3 separate regions of the Homo sapiens genome follow, and all the other regions are linked to region 1. Evidence: promoter capture Hi-C in 16 types of primary human blood cells and fetal thymus (Javierre and others, 2016). All regions are on one chromosome and are shown on one strand. Each heading gives the region's core, a stretch centred on a gene start or on the middle of the fragment in contact. The rest is flanking DNA. Distances are from core to core; before and after follow the strand shown. Region 1 holds the start of HECTD3 (HECT domain E3 ubiquitin protein ligase 3). Region 2 holds the start of LURAP1 (leucine rich adaptor protein 1). Region 3 holds the start of TSPAN1 (tetraspanin 1).

The links. The method cuts DNA at HindIII sites, captures the fragments that hold promoters and counts their contacts. A CHiCAGO score of 5 or more calls a contact.
Region 2: the fragment with the promoter of LURAP1 here is called in contact with the fragment with the promoter of HECTD3 in region 1 in 1 of 17 cell types (M0 macrophages); the score reaches 5.7 in M0 macrophages.
Region 3: a contact is called between the fragment with the promoter of TSPAN1 here and the fragment with the promoter of HECTD3 in region 1, in 4 of 17 cell types (total B cells, neutrophils, non-activated CD4 T cells and 1 more). The highest score is 14.5, in total B cells.

Annotation. Positions count from the first base shown.
Region 1 is chr1:45,009,579-45,012,573 of GRCh38, reverse strand. HECTD3 (HECT domain E3 ubiquitin protein ligase 3) reads left to right here and starts at 1,250. Exons shown (of 21, transcript NM_024602.6): 1 at 1,250-1,685; 2 at 1,868-2,028; 3 at 2,281-2,373; 4 at 2,453-2,588; 5 at 2,891-2,995. The coding sequence starts at 1,317. UROD (uroporphyrinogen decarboxylase) reads right to left here and starts at 320. Exons shown (of 10, transcript NM_000374.5): 1 at 289-320. The coding sequence starts at 308. RefSeq lists enhancers at 224-353, 394-443 and silencers at 1,204-1,333, 1,414-1,583. The HindIII fragment of the contact is 5,887 bases long and covers 1-1,468 here.
Region 2 is chr1:46,201,797-46,204,791 of GRCh38, reverse strand. It overlaps LURAP1 (leucine rich adaptor protein 1), which reads right to left and starts at 1,458. Exons shown (of 2, transcript NM_001013615.3): 1 at 1,168-1,458. The coding sequence starts at 1,365. It also overlaps a transcript of POMGNT1 not described here. RefSeq lists a silencer at 1,418-1,537. The HindIII fragment of the contact is 3,345 bases long and covers 1-1,982 here.
Region 3 is chr1:46,173,532-46,176,526 of GRCh38, reverse strand. TSPAN1 (tetraspanin 1) reads right to left here and starts at 1,440. Exons shown (of 9, transcript NM_005727.4): 1 at 1,118-1,440. It overlaps P3R3URF-PIK3R3 (P3R3URF-PIK3R3 readthrough), which reads left to right and starts at 39. Exons shown (of 10, transcript NM_001303427.2): 1 at 39-299. The coding sequence starts at 56. P3R3URF (PIK3R3 upstream open reading frame) reads left to right here and starts at 39. Exons shown (of 2, transcript NM_001328655.2): 1 at 39-299; 2 at 898-1,041. The coding sequence starts at 56. The coding sequence ends at 941. It also overlaps a transcript of PIK3R3 not described here. The HindIII fragment of the contact is 4,826 bases long and covers 969-2,995 here.

The sequences.
Region 1 (2,995 bases), core at 1-2,500:
GGGCTGGTTCAGGGGCTGAGAAATACCCAGGCTGGGGGATAAAGAGGGATCAGAGTTGATGGTCCCAGAATAGAGATCCTGGTTGGAAATCCTGAGGCATCCCTTGAATTAAGGCCCTGGGATGAACATCTCAAAAATCCATGGTTTTAGGATTCAGGATCCCAGCTAACGGAGTTCAGGTTGGGAGGTCTCCAGGGTGGGGAAAGGGGAGTAGAGGGATAGAGTCCTGAGTTGGAAGACTCAAATTAGAAGCCCGGCTAGCCACACCGCGTGCTCTGGAGAACTCACCCCAACCCATTCGCTTCCATGGTCAGCTGTCTGTAACTGCGAGCTCAATCCACAATTTAACCTGAATCTGAGCCTGCCCCCCAGTCCAGGCTCCGCCCCTTTCTGTAGGGAACCAAGAGCGTCGCCATGTTGAAGATCACATGATCGGACTCCAGCGACAGCTCCAGGGCTGCCCTGGCTGCTGCCCGTAGGACCCCTACCTTTTTTCACCGTAAAGTTTGCTGTAGCGACGCAACAACAAAGGCCCAAAAGAAAACTCCGCTGTAAATGTATCTTACGGTGACATGAGGAATTTGTTCTCATCTGACAGTCTGGGTATCCGGAGGCTTGGCGCAAGTCCCACTCATGATACCAACAGTCTTATCCAGCCAGGTCCATACTATAGCCTGGACCTATAGTAGGTGCAGAGGTTAGCTCTGCTCAAGACAGCCCCAGCCTTTAAGGAGCTACAAGACTGGGGAAACAGAAATCAGCAATCACATTAAAATGAATAATGATCTCCAGTGTCCTTGGGATTAGGAGTGACAAACAGAATCAACCCTAATGACTCAAGACTCCTGTCAGTGGCAGGGGAAGGGGCCATTGTCTCAAACACTTTAATCACACCACCCATAGGATAGGGAGTCCAGCAGATTCGCTGGGAGTGGGAGGAAAAACAGCAGGCCGAAGAACCAGAAAAATGACTGTTGGCAATGACCCAGGCTAGCTAGAATGGTGACTTGAATGAGGGTAGTAGCAGTAGAGATAAAATGGTAGTCACAAGGAAATGGAGAGAGGGAGATTGATCAGGTAGCAATCACCAATCTTGGGTTTGGTCGGCTGGGTTAGGGTGGCACAGAGATAAGTAATATGGTTGAGTGTGGGAGTACACAGTCCAATACAGTGAGAGCTGGGGTGCGCTTAGTCCAGAACATACGGCAAAGGCTGGCCAAAGGCGGGGAAGGGCGTGGTGGGAAGCTCTGTCCGCGGTCGCGCCAGCTGTTCCCCGGGCAGGGTCGCCTCTAGGTGCTCACCTCCGCCACTTCGCCATGGCGGGTCCTGGCCCGGGCGCGGTGCTGGAGTCCCCCCGGCAGCTGCTGGGCCGCGTGCGCTTCTTGGCAGAGGCAGCGCGGAGCCTCCGCGCCGGGCGGCCGCTGCCAGCAGCGCTGGCTTTCGTGCCGCGAGAGGTGCTCTACAAGCTTTACAAGGACCCAGCGGGACCGTCGCGCGTGCTTCTGCCGGTGTGGGAGGCAGAGGGCCTGGGGCTGCGTGTGGGCGCCGCAGGCCCAGCCCCCGGTACCGGCTCCGGGCCCCTCCGCGCCGCCCGCGACAGCATTGAGCTCCGGCGCGGCGCCTGCGTGCGCACCACGGGCGAGGAGCTGTGCAATGGCCACGGGCTCTGGGTGAAGCTGACAAAGGTGCGCTCTTCCCTGCCCAGGACCCGGTAAAAGACCCCTGGGGCCAGAGAAACCTCTGGCTGTTTGCCTTTTCTCCCCTGTATTGAGTTGGCATTGCGTTCGGCGCCCTTTGCCCTGGGCTGGGCACGACAGGCGGCTGGGCAGTTCCCTGACGGCTGTCCCCATCCTACGCGTCCCGGCAGGAGCAGCTGGCAGAGCACCTGGGCGACTGCGGGCTGCAGGAAGGCTGGCTGCTGGTGTGCCGCCCGGCGGAGGGCGGAGCCCGCCTGGTACCCATCGACACTCCCAACCACCTCCAGCGGCAGCAGCAGCTCTTTGGCGTGGATTATCGGCCGGTGCTCAGGTACTGCACTTGAAGGAGCGGGGCTGGCTGTCAGAAGGCCGGGCCAGGAGGGCTTGGGAACACTTCAGCCACAGCCTGGGGTGGGTGGGATACTGGAGCGGAGGCAGGGTTAAGAGCAGAAAGGGGCGGGACGTGAAGGGGGCTCGGAGGGAGACTGGGAGATAGAGCCCTGAAGAAGGCTACACGGCATGGAGGTAGTGTCTTGCTGACCGCTGATGTCTCCCCATCCCACTCCCTACTCTGTGCCCACAGGTGGGAACAGGTGGTGGACCTGACATACTCACATCGCCTGGGATCGAGACCTCAGCCGGCAGAGGCATACGCAGAAGCTGTACAAAGGCTACTGTGAGTGAGCTGGAATGGGGTGGGGAGGAAGGAGCTCTGCGTCTGGGCCCAGTCTAATTAGGGGCTTGGGGTTGCTTAGCTATGTACCCCCGACATGGACCTACGAGTGCGACGAGGACCTGATCCACTTCTTGTATGACCACCTGGGCAAGGAGGATGAGAACCTGGGTAGCGTGAAGCAGTATGTGGAGAGCATAGACGTTTCCTCCTACACGGTGGGTGCTGGGGCTCCTCCCACCCCAGGCAAGATATAGTCACACCCCTCAAGGCTAGATCCAGAAAGAACCCCCACCTGCAGGCCAGGACTAAAACAGGGTCCCCACAGGCCACACTCAGTTCAGCTCCCCATCTTGGACGTCTATAGGACCCCTTACATACCCAGCGGCCCCCTATCCCATACCAGTTGCCTGTTAGCCCAACTTCACTATGCTTTCTCTCTGGTGCTCCTGGCCCAGAGCACAAGCCCAGTGCAGGGAGGGAGGGTAACTGCTGACTTCACGTCTCTGCCCCTCCCCAGGAGGAGTTCAACGTGTCCTGCCTGACAGACAGCAATGCCGATACCTACTGGGAGAGCGATGGGTCCCAGTGCCAACACTGGGTACGGCTTACTATGAAGAAGGGC
Region 2 (2,995 bases), core at 209-2,708, 1.2 Mb before region 1:
AGGCAAGCCCCCGCTTAGGTGGGTACAGTCACAGCCTTGCTCTGGAGAATTGGGCACTCACCTCCAACCTTCAAGGCCAAGTGCACACTTGGCATTCAAGTCCTTCTCCCAGGGGGCCTTTCCTGACTGCTCCACCCACCAGACTCTCTTCCCAGCCTCTCAGCTCAGGCGTCGGAGCCCTGGCTGGTCTCAGAGCCCCCATGATTTCCTTCCCCTTCTCCTTCACAGACCAGCTTGGCACAGGCTGGGCACACAGGAAGACTTTAGCTGACGTACTCACTGTGGGCTCCTGGTTGTGAGCCAGGAAGCCGATGGCAATTCCTCAGTTCCCCAGAACTGGCTGCAAAGTAGTGGCAGGTGTAAATCACCCACTTCACCGGAATCAGGGCCCTGGGGAACCTGCCAGGGCCTCGGCTGCCCTTTTGGCTCTGAATCTAGACCAGCAGCAATAGAGAAAGGGGAGGGTTGCTGTTTCCTCTTCTCCCCAAGAATGTACAGATGAGATCCAAATATCCAGTTTACCTGGAAGACTGGCTGGGAGGAGACTGAGTCTGAGGCGAGGGAATCAGCACCAGTGGTGCTGCTACTCTCTGTCCCTGCTATGGGTCTAGGAACTTTCCATTATTTTAAGTAGGGCTGGGGGATGTAGAGGAAACGGAGAAGGTTTTCAGTGCCCCTGGTCCAGGTAGTTTTCAGCAGATAGGCCCCTTTACCCACTTCTTTTCTGTGCGGAACACTGCGGCCTCACAGGAACTTAAACCCTTTCCCGGTTAGCAGAAGGAGAAAAAACCGGTTGCCTTACAACGGGGACTGGCGGGGAATAGGTGGCCCATACAGGCGGGGGGAATTTGTGCTGCGTTGGGTTCTCAGTACTTCCCAGTCCTCATCTCTCTCCTCCCAATTATTTGGCAGGAATAACTTCCAAAACCCACTGCTCCCAACCCAAGTCCTCAGGACCATCAACACCCCACTCACTCTTGGGGGACAAGTAATGGACGTCACTCCATCTCCACCCCAGCGTTTACGGATTGATCTGGGAGGGATTCTGAGCAGTTAGGTGGAGAGTTTTAACTACCTCCTCTCCAGCTTAACTCTGGGAGCATGAGTTCGTCCCTCCCGGCCCTACACTAGGGACTCGTCCCCTTGGCCCATGGATTCAGCACTCACCAGCTCCATCTTCAGCGCCATGATCTTGTCCCCCAAGTCGTGGCCGGTGCTAGACGCCCCTGGGAGCAGCAGGGCGCCAGAGGTTCCCAGCTCACACTCGCCTCGCAGCCCGCGGAGCAGCCCTTCAGGGGTCTTCCTGCCCACCTTACCCTCCACATCCCGCAGGTCAGGCGTCTGGGACTCCACGGTCCCCTCCATGCGGGCCCAAGCCTGAAAAGGGCTGGGCGACCGGACGCCGGGGACCGGCTCCCGGGGGTCCTCCCTTCGCCGCTGCTAAAGCGGAGCAAAACCGGTGGGTCCCCGCCCGCGCGGCGCGGGGGCGGGAGGAGGGCGCCGTAACACTCAGAAAAGCCGCGCAGCACCGTCTGTGGATGTATTCGAGTGCTGCGCACACAACCTCTGGCCCTGGATTGCGTGGGGCTGGGCGATTCTGGAGTTGGACCTGAAAGAGCACTCGGAGACCTCAGCGCCTTCGCCCCACCCTGGCACTGAATCCAGCCAGGCACACAGCAGGCGCCCAATACATGTTTGCAGAATGAAGTCTAAGCAGCTTCAGTCAGAGATGTGGGAGTTTAAGGAACAGCGGTAACAGAGAGCTGCAGAGGGCTTGGAAGTCTTCCTGGAGCAGAGGAATTGGGTATAAAACGATGACTGGATTTTAGCTAGACACACACACACACACACACACACACACACACACACACCACCCCCCCCCCCCAGGGGCTAGAATTCAGGCTAACGGAGTAGAAAAGGGCAACCAGTACTGAAGCTGAAGAGGTCCACGTTGGGCTTACAAGCAAGATGCTCCTTAAGCTTGACTGTGCGTATGAATTATCTGCGGATCTTGTTAAAATGTAGGTTCTGATTTTGTAAATCTGGGGTGGGGCTTGAGATCCTGCATTTTTTTTTTTTTTTTTTTTTTTTTTTTGAGACAGAGTCTCGCTCTGTCGCCCAGGATGTAGCGTGGTGGCGCGATCTTGGCTCACTACAAACCTCTGCCTCCCTGGGTTCAAGCAATTCTCCTGCCTCTGCCTCCTGAGTAGCTGGGATTACAGGCATGCGCCACCATGCCCAGCTAATATTTTTGTATTTTTAGTAGAGACAGGGTTTCACCATGTTGGCCAGGCTGGTCTTGAACTCCTGACTTCAAGTGATCCGCCTGCCTTGGCCTCCCAAAGTGCTGGGATTACAGGTGTGAGCCACTGCGCCCAGCCAAGATCCTGCATTTCTAATAAGCTCCCAGGTGATGGCCATGCTGCTGGTCCACACTTCAAGTAATAAGGGACCACACTTTGAGTAACAAGGTTACAGAAAATGGTTCTGAGATGTTTGGGTTTTATTTAACAGGTAATGAACAGCCATGAAAACTCTGGTTTGTTTAGGCTTTTAATTCAAGTAATTCCAGCCCATGGTTGCAGAAGGATTTACAATGAGAAGATAGTTACCCCTACCCTACCCTTTCACACCTCTAGGCCCACTCCCAATTGGCAAAAAATAACTTTTAGTTTTTTTTTTTCTTTTGGTGTTCATACCCATAACGTTATTGTTTAGAGTTAACTAAAAGTGGTTGCCAATTGGGAGTGGGCCTAGAGGTGTGAAAGGGTAGGGTAGGAGTAACTATCCTCTTATTGTAAATCCTACCACTATTTTTTCTTTTTTAGAGACAGGGTCTTCCTACATTGCCCAGGCTGGACTCAAACTCCTGGGCTCAAGCAATCCTCCTGCCTCCCAAGCAGCTGTGACTACAGGAGTATGCCACCATGCCCAGCCACACTACTTCTCAATTTTAAACATTCATCTGCTGTTTATTGTCCTATTCAGATAAATA
Region 3 (2,995 bases), core at 191-2,690, 1.2 Mb before region 1:
CAGCTACCCTGGCCAACAGCACCCCCCAGGCACACTGCAGAAGCTCCCTGTGCCCATGGGGCCATCTCGGCTTGTCCGTGGCCCTCGGCCCCAGGGCATGCGTTCCCCCTACCGCAGGCCAGGTATGGGCTGGCCCAGGCCCCGATTTCCCAGGATGTTCAAGTGTAGCCGCAGAAGATATCAACAGGGTCTCCGAGGTCGAACTGCCAGCAGTGCAGCCATCAATCCTGCCACCAGGGCCATGGGTATCAACAACACCCACACTGACACCACCATAGTGTGGATCTTCCCACCTCAAGGTTAGCCAGGGGGCCTGTGAGCCAGGGTGGGGTTTTAAAAAACAGAGCCACTAGGCTGGGTGCGGTGGCTCATGCCTGTAATCCCGGCACTTTGGGAGGCCAAGGCGGGCAGATCACAAGGTCAGGAGATCGAGACCATCCTGGCTAACACGGTGAAATCCCATCTCTACTAAAAATACAAAAAAAAATTAGCCGGGCGTGGTGGCACACGCCTTTAGTCCCAGCTACTTGGGAGGCTGAGGCAGGAGAATTGCTTGAACCCGGGAGGCAGAGGTTGCAGTGAGCCAAGATCGCGCCACTGCACTCCAGCCTGGGTGACAGAGCTAGACTCTGTCTCAAGAAAAAAAAAAAAAAACCAGAGCCAGTGAAGATTTCCCTACCTGGTTCTGTTTAGGCACGCCAAAGGATGATCTCTGTGAAATAGCACCCCTACATATATGGGGGACTCCTGATGGCAGGCACCCCAAAGTGCTGACAGCCTTAATGGAGGATGGATTGGCTGGAAGCAGAGGGTTTGGGGAGGGGCTGAATCCAAGAGGCAGGGAACTTCCAGAACTGCTTCCTTCCTCAAACTCTTCCCTCTCCTTCCTCTCCTCAGTTCTCAGACATCTCAGGCAACCTGGGATTTTTCTGATCCTCTAGAAGTGCCCAGAAGCTAGCCCAGAAGCTTGGTTTGCCCTGGACCTGCATCTCCTAGGGGCCGTGTGGGTGGTGAACAACAAATACAGTCATTCTGCTCAAACTGCCTTATTCCACACAGAGGTGTTAACCAGCTGACTATGCAGGGCGTGAGGGGAGGGTTATGGCTGAATACTTACAGGGAAAGGCTTCAGTGACCGCAGCAGGGATCATAGTTTAAGACAGCAGGAGGACAGGACAAGGTCAGCAACATAGACCATCTTTGGTCTCAGCTCTTGATCTGCCCCATGAAGTAGGGGCTCTCTTGCCTTACACTCCTAACTGCACAGGGAGAAGGGTCTCTGTAAACATCTTGGAAGGTATTGGGAGGCACAGATCAGAGAGGGATAGGATGAAAGACTGAACCCTGAGAGTACACAAGTATGAGGTGGATGTGAGGTGGATGTGCCTCTGTGTGCCTGTGATGGTCAGCGTGTAGGTGTAGCTGCTGGTGTGTGTGTCTGAGGCCGGGAGAATAGGAGTATCAGTAGATGTGGCTGAATGTGCCTTTGTGATTTAATGTGCCTCTGTGACTGACTGTGAGTGTCAAGGAGCGTTTGTGAGGGTATGGGTGTGCCGGAGAGGACATCAGCCCTGGTAAGAAAAGTGAAGGTCAGGAGGGGGATGGGGAACAGCCTAAAGGAGGAGAACATGGAGAAGGGTGAGATTCTGAGAAAGGCATACTACCTTCGGCCCTTCAACCATTCTCTGAGGTCAGTGTTTTCCAGAACTGGCAGCTGAGCTGGGGTGCTTAGGGGTGGGGCAAGACTGAGTTTGAGCCCAGAAAGTAGGGAGGGTGCTAAGCTCTCTGGCCTGGGGATTTTCCATTTGGATTTCTGAGTGTGTGCTCATGTGTCACTGGCTGTAACCGGGTTTCTGTGGGGTTGTGTCTTAGTCGCTGGGAACATTTTGTAGGACTCTGTCTCGAATATGTTGCATCATGCATGGGCTAATACGTGTTGCACCGGTCCGAGATCTGGCTGCATTTCCAGGCTACCTTCCCAAGGGGCTAGGGAAGGGAGTGAACCCTGAGACCTTTGGTGGCCTGGCCCCCTGGGGTTCAGGAAGTGTGGCTAATGTCCTTTGCTGCCTGTGAAGGGAAAGTGAATTGTGCTTATGTCTATCTACCCCAACTCTTGCCAGAGACTGGGACCCTGAGGGGGGTTGAGGCAGAGAATTCACTGACACACCATGCCCAGACGGTGCTGGGCTCCTCAGGTTATGGGATGGGGGTTGCTGAACATCAGTCAAAGCTAGAAGGTGCTTGGGCCATGCTCAAGGGCCCAAGAGGGGCCATACATATAAAGATACATGACACAGTTCACAAACACATGCAGACATGTAAATATAAGTGAACTCATAGACACATACTGCAACAACCACACACATGCATGCAAGCACATACTATAAGCAGATATACGCAGACACAAATGCATAGATCCCCACACGATATATGTAACAACACATACGCATGCCTCTAAATGAACACAGACAGAAACATGCATGCACCCAGACACAAGCACACAAGCACCCAGATGCAGACACATGCCTTCACACTCATGCAAACCCAGGCACACACAGACATACACGCATGCAGACACACTCACCAGACTTCCCTGCCCCTGCGGCCCTGGGACCCAGAAGCCTCCCTCCCCTATATGAGTGTGTAGTATGTGTGTGTGCATGCACTCATGCCCACACTTGTGTCTGTGTGTATCTGTGTCTGTGAGAGTGTGTGTTTGTGCTCGAGTGTGTGTATGATGGGGGTGCTAAGCTGTGGGAACCAGATGACATCATCTCTTCCAGCTATTTTTAGCTGTATCTGCGATGATGGCTTCTTCACTGCCCCTCCCCCTTCAGGTTCCTAATTCTCCTCCCCATCTAGGCTCCCAGAGGCAGCAGCAGCCAGAGGGCACCCACCACCTCAGTTTAGGTGGCTCCCGGATGAGCGGGTGCAGCCCACTCTCTCCCACCCTGCCAGAGTTCCCTGGTGGCTGAGAACACCAGGCTCTCAGGCT